Regions from separate parts of the Homo sapiens genome. Here regions 1 and 2 are each linked to region 3. Evidence: promoter capture Hi-C in 16 types of primary human blood cells and fetal thymus (Javierre and others, 2016). All regions are on one chromosome and are shown on one strand. The core of a region is centred on a gene start or on the middle of the fragment in contact, and the rest is flanking DNA. Distances in the headings are between cores, read along the strand shown.

Region 1 (4,386 bases), core at 513-3,012, 420 kb after region 3:
ATAAGTAAGGATGACCCACAGGGAGAAAGAGGCTTGATTAAAGCAATGTGAGGGAAAATAGCTATGGAAGAGATAGTGATATGGTTTGGCTCTGTGTTCCCACCCAAATCTCATCTCGAATTGTAATCCCCATGTGTCATGGGAGAGACCTGGTGGGAGGTGATTGGATCATGAGGACAGTTTCCCCCATGCTGTTCTCGCTCACCAGAGTTGATGGTTTTAAAAGTGTTTGGCAGTTCCCCCTTTGCTCTCTTCTCTGTTTTGCCTGCTACCATGTAAGACATGCCTTGCTTTCCCTTCACCTTCCACTTTTTTTTTTTTTTTTTTTTTTTGAGATGGAGTCTCACTCTGTTGCCCAGACTGGAGCGCAGTGGTGCGATCTCGGCTCACTGAAGCCTCCACCTCCCAAGTTCAAGCAATTCTCCTGCCTCAGCTTCCTGAGTAGCTGGGATTACAGGCACACACCACCATGCCTGGCTAATTTGCTAATTTTTTAGTAGAGACAGGCTGGCTTTCACCATGTTGGCCAGGCTGGTCTTAAACTCCTGACCTCAAGTGATCTGCCCACCTCAGCTTCCCAAAGTGCTGGGATTACAGGCGTAAGCCACCGCACCCGGCCTCAGGTAGTATCTTTATAACAGTGTGAAAATGGACTAATACAGACAGTCTTTAAATTTAGCTTCAGCAGAACTTTCAGGGACTAGCAGAAAAAATGCTAATTTGAACCTGATGAACAAAGACCTGCATTGATGAAACCTCACAACCATTTATATCTCACATCTTCCCAATTCTATCACAAAGACCTAAAGTTCCTTTATGCCCTAAAACTATCAAAATGTATTTTGGGGCCTGAGTTTTTCCAAAAGTTGAGTTTCCATATCACTGGTTATGGTTAGATTCCATGTGGGAACTGGTACCTGCTTAGCATTTTAATTAATTAGTATTCTTGTTTGTGGTTTTCTTTTTCTTCAAAAATATTTCCTGAGTACTGTGCTGAAAAATGAACAAAAAAGAAAAAATTCATGCTCACTGCAAAGTATAAATTCCCCAGCTCTCTTCCTCTCATAATTCTTCCTCCAGAGTTCTTTTTTCACTGGCTCTGATTCCTCAAATAATCATTTGAAAGTAAACGGTATATGAAGAGGAAAATATGTCCCACACGAAGGTGATCATACTACCTCTCACAAATATCTATTGAGAGATACACAAATTGTTTGGGATTAATTACACATTGTTGTTATAGTCAGTGCACTCTTGATGTCTTATAGGCTTTTGTGGGGTCATCCAGGAGACCCATGCTACAAGGTCTGACAGGATTTTTCCCCTAGCTGCTCTGCATATCCACAGTCCTCTGACCTCATTGCAGTTCTCATTTGCAATGTTTTCTTAAATAGGTAGAAATGTTTCCTGCTCATTTTGCTTTTATACATTTGGCAAATACTATCTTGGCTTCCTCAGTGATCTTGTGTCTGGGTCTTCCCTCATCTTGGAACCAGAGCTGGCATTTTAATTATCCTGTAAATTCTGACCCCATTTCAAAGTGTAAGCTACCACATGATTTATTTAGTTCTTTTTCTTTTTTTAAAGGTAAGTGAGGGGTAGTTTGATAAATAATTTTTTAAGCTTAGGGGTTATTAGAATGTTTATGCTATATTTACTCCCTGCCTTGATACATAAAGTATTCTAAATGGCTCCATAGATCTGCTAAGATGAAATAGGTATAAAACTTAAAATTTGGGCCTTGCAAAAATACACATGGACAAAACCAAGGGAAAAATAGAAAAAAAAATTTATGCAGGCTCCACTCCAAAGATGAACCCAAAATTTGGCACTGAGCTTTCTTATGGCCCACTCAAAAAGGGAAAATATAGTCAAGTGCTTGATTCATGTTGTCTAAGAAATAAAGCTTGCCAGTAATTCTGAGGAAATAAAGTTTTTCCTAGCACATAGAATCTAGAAGAACGTTTCCATGCAGGTCTTCACATGGGCCACATCTTCATCACTTTTAGAATAAATGTGATTGCTGCTGTGCTAGGGGTGTTTATTAAAAGATCCCTGTGTCTGAAGCTAACAAGGGTAAATATCAATGCACTTCCCAGCAAAAGTAATTTTTCATGCAGGCCTCCGACAATGTGATCTAAATGTTTAGCTCTCCAGTGGTCTGCCAGGAATCAAATGTAGAGTGTCCAGATATGAATAGTCAGCTCATCCTTAAAATAAACTTCCATTAATATCATTTCTCTCAACAGAGTTCATCTTTTCATCATAATGTGTTAAACCAGGAAATATCAGTAGACAGTTCTGCAAAGGCTAAATGAAAAGGAAATTAGCTTAATTTGCAGTGTAAGACTTTCAGGTTTGTTACAAAGAATGTTGGGAGAGTGAGAACTGGCTTTTACAGTGGATTCCTATGAGAACAGATTTTTTTTTTCTTCCACACAACACTAGTGGAAGATTTCTTTTATTTTTTTTTTTTCTTTTGTTTTCGTGACAGAGTCTCACTCTGTCACCCAGGCTAGAGTGCAGTGGCACAGTCTTGGCTCACTGCAACCTCTGCCTCCTGGGTTCCAGTGGTTTTCCTGCCTCAGCCTCCCAAGTAGCTGGGATCACAGGCATGCGCTACCATGTCTGGCTAATTTTTCTATTTTAGTAGAGATGAAGTTTCTCCATGTTGGCAAGGCTGGTCTCAAACTCCTAACCTCAAGTGTGATCCACCCACCTAGGCCTCCCAAAGTTTTGGGGTTATAGGCATGAGCCACCATGCCCATCTCATAAGATTTTCAAAAAATAAGGTTTTTTTTTTTATCATTAAATCTTAAAGGATGGAAAAACCTGCATAAGGCCCTTCCTAATCCTACAACATAGTGATTGTGACAATTCATTTCCATTGTGTGAAAACATATGACATTTAATGATGATCGTCAACTCCTATGCGGGGTAGGGTGAAAGGCGCGAAAGGAAACATATTAGAAAAAGTGGCTCCTGGCCAACCCAGAGGTGATTTCATTTGGGGCTGGCTCAAGTTTCATAAGCCTAGAATCAAACTTGCAACCATCTGTTTGAGGTTCTGTGGGAACCAAGAATTCCAGAGCCCAGGGAAATGGGAGAGCATCCTAGGAATAGACCCTTCACTGAATCTTGTTTCCACTTCATGATAGAAAGCTCCCTAGAGCTGCCTTTCCCCTTGATTTTAGGGCTGGAGGAGGAGCTTAAGAAGCACCTTTGGAGCTCAAGCTTGGACTTCCTGTGGCCCTTTCCCACAGAAGAGCTAACTCTTGGAATGAGATCTTTGAACATTCCATATGAGCCTCCAAAGACCAAATGATCCAAAACAATTGCAATAGATCTGTCTAACGACCATATTGAATCCACCACCACTTCCAGTGTCAACAAAACCAAACTGCATACTACACCAGCAATTCTGTCTGGTTAAAAGAAGACCAACCATCTTCCAGTTTCTCTTGCCTAGAATCTCTCTCACCTAGCATCAATCTGTAGGAGACTGAATTACCAACTAGTCAAGGAAACTTTCAAAAATATAGGTGGGATGTGACAACTGTGGATATAAGTCTTAAAGCAATGTGGAAAATGGGCTGCCCAAATTGGAGTAACTTGCTGAGAATGTTCTCTCCATATGCCCAGCCCCACAGGTTCATCTACAAGAGGAGTATCTCTGATGTGAACTGCAAATTGTCTTGGGTTGGGTTCCTCAGAAACAGAGCATAAGATGGTGGTTCTTGGGCAAGTAATTTATTGGCAGATGGCTTGCAGGAGAAATCTGCATGGGAGTGAGGGAAGCAGGATTGGAAGAAAGCAAGGATGTGGTTTCAGGAGAAGTCCAGCATCTCTCTGCCTAATCACACTGGGAGCTCTGGAACATAAATAGGATAGTGGAGTCTGTCCCATCTTGAGGCAAGAGGGCTTTGGTAACCTGCATCTGTCATTCATTGGCTTCCAGCCACCCTGCATTCATGTGGGTGAGGGAGACCCCAAAGCATCTTCGGTGTAAGCAGCTTCAGTTGCTCAAGGACAGCTTCAGGAGCAGGCTTCAGGTGTGAGCTCTTAGCTGCAGCACCTATAGCAGTTTAGTGAAAGGAACCCCAAGTGTATCAGGCAAGACATCAACAGCAGCTACTAAACTAGCACTTCTCAAACTTGAGTGAGCACCGGAGTCCTCTGGAGCACTTGTTAAACACAACTTGTTGCACCTCACCCAGTTTCTGATTCAGTAAGTCTGGGATGAGGCCTAAGAATTTGCATTTCCAAGGTGATGCTGATGCTGCTAGTCCAGGGACCATGCTTTGAGAACCACTGTGCAAAGCTAACATTTTTTTAAAGCAATCAATTGCCTTTGGAAAGCTAGCTCATGGACATGTTCACTCACTC
Region 2 (4,020 bases), core at 1,215-3,714, 300 kb after region 3:
GTGTGCACATGTGTATGGAAGTCATACAAGCTCAAAGAAATGGCTAGAGGGTTGACACTTTTATACCATCTTGAGGTTACAGCAAGAATGAGGACTTGGATTATAGCAAAACAGGTTATGGTGGCAAGACAGGTTATGGGACAGAGAGAAGAGGAGGCCTGGCTAGTAAAGGTGGTCTTGTTATGCAGATGAAATCTCACAGATGAAATCTCTCTGAAATCCCTCAGAGAGAAGAGATGGGAGCCTGTGATAAATGTTTCTGCAGGGCCTTTAAAGTGTCAAGACTCCCAGGTGATCCTTCCTGGATCCAGAGGGAGAGAGTGGGGTGGTGTTTCAAAGAATACATGATAGCATCTGTTGTTTACTTCATTTTACTCCCTCTACAGTTGCAAATCTCCTTCACACAAGATAGCTTTGCAGGCCACTTCTGTTGGCAGGCCCTGTGAACAGCCACCTCAAAATATGTCAAAATATATATTAAAATTTTTTTTTAATTTCAATACCTTTAGGGGTACAAGTAGTTTTCGGCTAAATGGATGAATTGCATGGTGGTAGTCTGGGATTTTAGTGCATTCATCACTCAAGTAGTGTACATTGCATCCAATATGTAGTTTTTCATTCCTCATCCTCCTCCTACCTCCTCCCTTCTGAGTCTCCAATGTCCTTTATACCACTCTGTATGCCTTTGCATACCCATAGCTTAGCTTCCACATATAAGTGAGAAAATACGGTATTTGGTTTTCCATTCCTTAGTTAACCTCTCTTAGAATAATGGTCTCCACTTCCACCCACGTGTGTATATGTGTGTGTGTGTGTATATATATATATATATGTATGTATATGTGTATGTGTGTGTGTGTATATATGTATGCATATTGTATATATATATATGTATATTCCTACCAGCAGTGCATAAGCACTCCCTTTCCACCACATCCATGCCAACATCTATAGTTCTTTGAGTTTTTAATGTCCATTCTGGCTGGGGTAAGGTGTTTTGCCATGTTTCCCAGGCTGGCCTTGAACTCGTGGTCTCAAGCGATCCAGCTACCTCGGCCTCCCAAAGTGCTAGGATTACAGGCATGAGTCACTGCACTGGGTCAAGCTATTAATCCATCTTGAGTTAATTTTCGTATGTGGTGAGCAATAGGGATGCATAATATTTTGGGGTGAGATATTTTGGTTTCTTTCAGATCATACAGTAATTGTGTCTAGTTTATTTCACTTATCATAATGTTTCCCATATGGATAGCAGGATTTTCTTCTTTTTATGATCAAATAGTATTTCAGTGTATTTATTTATGTAATTAATTTATTTTTTGAGACAAAGTCTCACTCTGTCACTCAGGCTGGACTGCAATGGTGCGATCTCGGCTCACTGCAACCTCTGCCTCCCAGGTTCAAGCAATTCTTGTGCCTTAGCCTCCTAAATAGCTGGGATTACAGGTGCCCGCCACCACACCCAGCTAATTTTTGTATTTTTAGTAGAGACAGGGTTTCGCCATGTTGTCCAGGCTGGTCTTGAACTCCTGGCCTCAAATGATCTGCCTGCCTCGACCTCCCAAAGTGCTGGGATTACAGGAATGAGCCACCACACCTGGCCTCATTGTATTTACATACCACATTTTCTTTATTCATTCATCCATCCATTGACAGACACTTAGGTTGTGTCCATATCTTGGCTATTGTGAATAATGCTGCAATGAACATGGAGGCTCAAGTATCTCTTGGAGATACTGATTTTATTGTAATAGCAGAGACATAGATCAGTGGAACAGAATAAAGAGCCCAGAAATAACCCCACACATGTACAGTCAACTAGTCTTTGATAAGGGTGCCAAGAATACATGATGGGAACAGGACAGTCTCTTTAATAAATGGTTTTCGGAAAACTAGATACCCTCATGCAAAGAATAAAATTGGGGTTTTATCTCACGTTATATGCAAAAATTAACTCAAAATGGATTAAAGACGTAAAACCGTAATACTCCTAGAAGAAAACACAGCAAAAGCCTTCCTTGACGTTGGCAGTGATATGTTTAGATATGACCGCTAAAACACAAGCAACATAAGCAATGAACAAGTGAGACTACATCAAACTAAAAAGCTTCTACACAGCAAAGGAAACAATCAGCAAGGTGAAGCGGCTACCTCCAGGCTCCTTTTATTCAGAAAGGCATACACATTTCTGCTCAAATATTTTGCCAGTTCATTTTATTTGAGTAGAAACAGTCAAATGCCACATAAAGGAAAGCCCCCTCTAATGAACCCTCTGAAGCACATCATGTTAACTTTCCCATGCTAACTAATGTTGAGAAAGAGGAAGTTTTGCATTTTTTCCTTTGCCCCCTTGTTACAAAATCATCTGTTGACCTACAACCGGCGTTCTGCTTAAACGATTGTGTGCAGTGATCTTTAGAAAATGCAGTAGAGGAGAGAAAGGGGTCACAAGGGGAAAAAGATAGATTCACTTAAACTGCATGCATAGAAACCCTCCTTTTTTCTTTACAAGTTTTATCATGAAGCAAAAATATTGAGAGATAGTAACGTCAATCAAAATTACAATCAAGTTAAACAATCTGGTGCATTCATCACTTTAGTAGTGTACATCCCTGTTTGTATTTTTCATTTCATTTCTATTAAGATTTAGTACACAACCTAAAATACAAAGACAACTAGGACAAAATTCCTGCCTTTGAGCTCAGTTAACCATGGGAAATAAGTAATAAAACAACTTAGACAGGAAGTATAATGAAGGTTACCAGGGACTGGAAGCGGGGGAAGAGTTATTGCTTAGTAATAGAGTATTTTGGGGTGATGAAAAAGCTTTGGAAACAGATCATGGTGATGGTTTTACAACTTTGTGAATGTAACTAATGCCACTGAGTTGTACACTTAAAAATGGTTAAAATCACAAATTTTATGTTGCACATATTTTATCACAATTTCTAAAATCAGAAAACCCTCAACTATCTGTGAAGTGTGACAACAGCTATAGATGAGATATACGTTAAAGATCTTGAGTAAACAAGAGAAATAATCTTTTAAAAACAAAATGTATTGAGTTTCTACTTTTTCTTAGGCACTCTACTAGGCACTTAATATACAGTGTCTCAGTCTGCCTCCAAGAAGCAGACACCAAGATGAAATTGGAAATTGAACGTGCAGCTGGGCTCAGTGGCTCACACCTGTAATCCCAGCACTATGGGAGGCCGAGGTGGGAGGATCACATGAGCCCAGGAGTTTAAGACTAGCCTGGGCAACATAGCAAAACCCTGTCTCTATTAAAAAAAAAACACACAAAAAATTAGCTGGGTGTGGTGGTGCGTGCCTGTCATTCCAGCTACTCAAGAGGCTAAGATGGGAGGATCGCTTCAGCCCAGGAGATCAAGGCCGCAGTGAGCCATGATTGTACCACTGCACTCCAGCCTGGGCAACAGACTGAGGCCCTGTCTCAAAAAAAGGAAAAAAAAAAAAAAAGAAATTGAATGAGCTAGAGATGTATTGGGAGAAACACCTGTGCAGGATAAAGGGGAGGAAGCAGGGGTGTGCAGGGAGAGTCTCCCAACTGCAGTGCAGGCCTGACACCAGCTTAGAGGAGCAAAGGAAGGGAGAAAGAGGATTGGAGACAGAGCCTCAGACTGCAGTGCTGGTGTCAGAATGTTTAAGCCAGATCAGTGGGAGGCCTTCAAGCCCATGTCTCCTACTAGAGGAGTCTCATCCTCCAGCAATGGGCCTGATTTAGTTTCTCTGCTGGGCTTCATCAATGGCCGGGTGCAGCCTGAGGGAAGCATGGCCTCAGGGCAAGCCTGATGGAGGATCCAGGGGGACAGCACCCAGTGCTGGGATACTTATTTGCCAACTGCACATTCTCTAGAAGGAGCTCTGACTAGTGTACTTCTGTGGTCACCATACACCTAACCTCATTTAAAGCTCACAACGCCTCTTCCAGGCATTTTATTACCTCCAATTAACAAAAAAGGTAAACAGTAAGTTGCCCCAAAGCACACAGCTCTTAAG
Region 3 (4,432 bases), core at 1,340-3,839:
AGCTGAAAACTAAAGTAAGCTTTTTAAAAATAAGAGTATTGTCTTCATAATCTCTACAGAAATTTTCTCAAACTTTTTTGAAAATATGGTCCCATAACAGTGCAACTAATATTTCACATGGCAATATAAAGTTTATGAGTTTTTGGATCCAATTGTATGCTTCTCACTGGGTAGAAAAGTTGTCTTTCCTTTTCTACTACACAGCTTGTTACTGGAATAATAATAGAAAATCATCATTTTAGAGAATTCAATTTTCTCTGGTACTTTAAAGAAAACAAAATTAGAAAGTTGTGACAATAGCTAAATTAGGAAGATGAAAAACTCATATTAAAAACTGAGTACATACGGACAGGAAGAGGTGAACAACACACACCTGGGCCTACTTGAGGTTGGAGGGTAGGAGGAAGGTGAGGATGGAAAACCACCCATCAGGTACGATGCTTATAATCTGGGTGACAAAATAATCTGTATACCAAACCCCTGTGACACGCAATTTATCTATATAACGAACCTGCACATGTACCCCCAAACATAAAGTAAAAGCTAAAAAAAAACCTGATATATGACTTAATGTGTGTACACTGAAAGGAACGAATAGAGCTGTTTCTCCTCCAATGTCCTCTAATATCCCCCAAACAATTAAATTTCCACGTGTATGAAAGAAAAGCCACCCCTCTTGCTTCACCATTATTAGAAGCATTCTCACATTCCACATCAACAATTAAAAAAGTAAGTAAGAAAAATTATTAAACAGATTACATTAAATGCTATATATGAGAAGAAGGCATTTAAGACAGTCTTGTCATCCACTAATTCATATAACCTACTGTAAGGGTTGTATGGTTGAAAACAATTTTCATAAACCACAAATAGCTCGTAAAACATACCTGCAATATCTTCTAGCTCCTTGGTATCAACCCTGTAACAAAAAGTTGCAACACAATTTTAACATAATGCTACACAAAAGGCCTTGTTTGTTGGGAAGAAATGTCTTGTGTGAAATGTTCTGCATAGAACATAACAGTGATGACATGATCCAAAGCTGACTTTTCCTAAAAGACCTTATCTGACAGGCAAAAGGGACTTAAACACTTTACCCCGTGTGTTCATCTGTTTCAGCAAAAGATCCTCTTTCCCCATGCTCATCAGTTACATCTCCCTCCTTTGTCTCTGTAACAGGTTTTCTTTCCTCATGCTCATGACTTACTGGATCCTTTCCTGCATTAAAATAAAAAAGACAAACCTTTTTTAGAGGAAGACGCTGTTGTGGACATTTTTCATAGAGAAACGTACTATTTGTAGACTTTTTTGGCTCTCCGCCAATTAAAGCTTTACCGCAGAGCTATACATGGAATCGCCGGCTCCTAACCATTTTACGGAGGCATTTTTGGAAGCCCTTCGGGTTCAAGTCCCAGTAAACAACGTTCACAGGTCAGATCCCTTGGATGTCAGGACCGCATCCATGGAGAAGAGCTGCTCTGAGAGCATCTGTAACCCTGCTATGAGGGGGAGCCTCCCACGGGAAGCCTAAGGCCCTTGAGCCTGCTTTGAAAACCTGGGGCATCTCAGCACATGCACGGTGAGCTCCAAAGCCACGAAGGGGCCGGGGGCCTCGGGCTGCCCATGTGCGCCCCGCCCAGAAAGCAGACAGACTGTTGGGCGTGCACCTTCTTCTAGGTCCCCTTGGGCTGTGTTTACCTGCAAGCTCCATTTCCTGGGCGGCCATAACTTGAACCTCCAACTGGTCCTTGGCAGCCATCCTGCTGCCCTTCCTGCCCACGGGCTCCGTGGCTGACTGGCCTGGGAAGCTAGAGGCGACCTCTGAACCTGGTGAGTGCAAAGACACACTAAGGACACTAAGGAAACGAGGCGTGTTAAATGAAAATCATCAGGATCGCAGGTTCAAGGGCGCCCCGGGTCTCCCGTGGGAGCAGGAGGGGACGCGGAGAAGATGCCATCATCCCCTCCTGTCCTGGCCCGTCCAGCGCTTCCCCGGGGCTGGCTGCAGAGCTCGCAGAATTCCGCGGCCTCTGCGGGATTCTTGCAGTGCCCTTGGGACAGAGCCTGGCCCTGCCCCTGGGTTCCCCAGCGACCCAGTGGAGTCGGGAGGGCCGCGGGGTGACACAGGATCTCCCCAGCCATCTCCATGGGAATGAGCCGGTACGCACCTGTTTCTGACAGGGGCAGGGACTGCCCATTCGCCAGCCTGGACGCCCAGGGGACCCCTGGTGACCCCAAGTATCCCGTCCTGATGGGCAGCCAGACAAGACGGACCCACGTTGACCCCCCGACCCCCCCCCAAACGCTGCACACATGCACAGGCCTCCGGGACCCTCCTGGGTCCTGGGGACCACTCAGGCAGCTCCAACTCCCTGCCCTGACCCAGGCCCCAGGCGACAATGCCTGGGCCATTTCCTCACAGATCAGCCTGGCTGCCCCGCCCTTCACACCCTCTTCCCCAAAGGGCCTCTGGCCCGCCTTCCCCGCATCCCCACCGAGGGCGTCTCACCTGAGGGAGCCCTGATGTTGCTCCCTCAGAGGACCTGCAGAGGCTGGCACCGCGAAGCTCCTCCGAGGGCCTGGGTCCTCTGTTCTCACGAGAGCAGCAGCCGCCCCGGCTGCCCGCGCTCCTCGCTGATTGGTCGGCCCAGTGCGCATGCAGGTGGCGGGCGGCATGGGGCCACGCCCCCTGCAGGCACACCCTCCCCCTCACGGACTGTCCATGGCTGCTGTGGACTCATTGGGTGGCTCTCTGAGGCCTCTGTCCCCACGATATTCCAGCTCCTCATCCTGGTGAAGGAAGCAAGGACTCGGGAGTGGTGAGTGCCAGGGGACCCTGCCCTAAGGAATGGAGGCCAAGTGAACGGGGCCTAGGACCTTGCCCCCAGGCTCGTTCCAGCCACTCCTGCCCCTTTGGGTGGAATGGCCATCACCCTGCGGGTGGAGCCCAGGCTCCCTCCCATGTCCTGTGTGCTTCCAACACGCCCAGCTGCATCCTTTTTATCAATGGATTGTGCTTTTATGTTTTATCTAAGAAAATTGTTGACTCCCAGCAGGGGCAGGTAGTTTTCTCCTATCCTACTCCATTCCCTCACACTGGGCATTGCATGATTCTGCAGTGGATATACAAAGTTAAAGACTTTATGTCTAGATTTCTCATGATGTGGTCATTTCTTTTCTTTCATTTTTCTTTTTTCTTTTTTTTTTTTTTTTTGACAGGGTCTTGCTCTGTCACCCAGGCTGGGCTGCAATGGTGTAATCACTACTCACTGTAGCCTCAACTGCCCGCGCTCAAGGGATCCTCCCACCACAGCCTCCCAAGTAGCTGGGACTACAGGCATGTCCCACCATGCCCAGCTAATTTTATTTTATTTATTTATTTATTTTTAGAGACAGAGTCTTACTCTGTCCCCAGGCTGGAGTGCAGTGGCACGATCTCGGCTTCCTGCAACCTCTGCCTCCCTGGTTCAAGCAATTCTCCTGCCTCAGCCTCCCAAGTAGCTGGGACTATAGGCGCACGCCGCCACGCCTGGCTGATTTTTTTTTTTTTTTTTTTGTATTTTAGTAGAGACAGGGTTTCACCGTGTTGCCCAGGCTGGTCTCGAACTCCTGAGCTCAGTCAGTCTGCCCGCCTCAGCCTCCCAAAGTGCTAGGATTACAGGCATGAACCACCGCTCCTGGCCAATTTTGTTTATTTTTTGCAGAGATGAGGTCTCACTATGTTGCCCAGGCTGGTCTGCAACTCCTGGGCTCAAGCGATCCGCCCGCCTCAGCCTCCTAAAGTGCTGGGGTTACAGGCTTGAGCCATCGTGCCCAGCCCGATTATTTCCACAGCTGGGTTGGAAGCCATCTTTCCCTGACAAGGCAGCTCACCTTTATATCTAAGAGTTCTCTATAACCTAAAGAGAATCCCTAATTACTGACACTAAATACCACCAGCTGTCCCCATTTCCCCACAATCTACTTGGTACCCAAATTAGCCAATGAGACATCTTGGGGAATTTTAAGCCATGATTGCTTCAGGTTTCTCTCTCTTTCGAGCTTAAGATGTGTAACATTAAGAAAGAAGACAAATCTTGCAGAGGGCTTTGTGCAACCAGTCTTACAGCTTTCTATCCCATCTGGATCAATGTAATTTTCATATGCTTCATCAAAGATTTCAGCTGAAAGTACTATACCAGGTTCTGTCTATAATTGGAAACACATACACACATACACCAACTACTGGTATTCAGCTAAGAATTCAATGCTGGCTCATTTTTCTTTAAAAGAATGTCAAATCAAGGAACAATTCTCCATCACAAAGTGGAATTTGATGTCAGGTGAAGACAAATGGGGATTACAGAGCTACTTCTTTGGCATAACAGCCTAGAAACAAACTGAAAAGGATTCTGCAATTTTAAATAGGCACAAAGACATTCTTTTCAGAACA

Evidence for each region. The method cuts DNA at HindIII sites, captures the fragments that hold promoters and counts their contacts. A CHiCAGO score of 5 or more calls a contact.
Region 1: a contact is called between a fragment that was not itself captured here and the fragment with the promoter of FAM9C in region 3, in 1 of 17 cell types (total CD8 T cells). The highest score is 5.2, in total CD8 T cells.
Region 2: a contact is called between a fragment that was not itself captured here and the fragment with the promoter of FAM9C in region 3, in 1 of 17 cell types (activated CD4 T cells). The highest score is 5.5, in activated CD4 T cells.

What each region holds. Positions count from the first base shown.
Region 1 is chrX:13,465,253-13,469,638 of GRCh38, forward strand. No RefSeq gene overlaps it. Among named protein-coding and RNA genes, the nearest start is that of EGFL6, 100 kb to the right of the region's middle. The HindIII fragment of the contact is 283 bases long and covers 1,622-1,904 here.
Region 2 is chrX:13,342,912-13,346,931 of GRCh38, forward strand. No RefSeq gene overlaps it. Among named protein-coding and RNA genes, the nearest start is that of LINC01203, 9.7 kb to the left of the region's middle. The HindIII fragment of the contact is 719 bases long and covers 2,106-2,824 here.
Region 3 is chrX:13,042,031-13,046,462 of GRCh38, forward strand. It overlaps FAM9C (family with sequence similarity 9 member C), which reads right to left and starts at 2,590. Exons shown (of 8, transcript NM_174901.6): 1 at 2,510-2,590; 2 at 1,699-1,827; 3 at 1,098-1,218; 4 at 888-919. The coding sequence starts at 1,759. It overlaps LOC105373133 (a long non-coding RNA gene), which reads left to right and starts at 2,703. Exons shown (of 4, transcript NR_171577.1): 1 at 2,703-2,819. The HindIII fragment of the contact is 8,868 bases long and covers 1,328-4,432 here.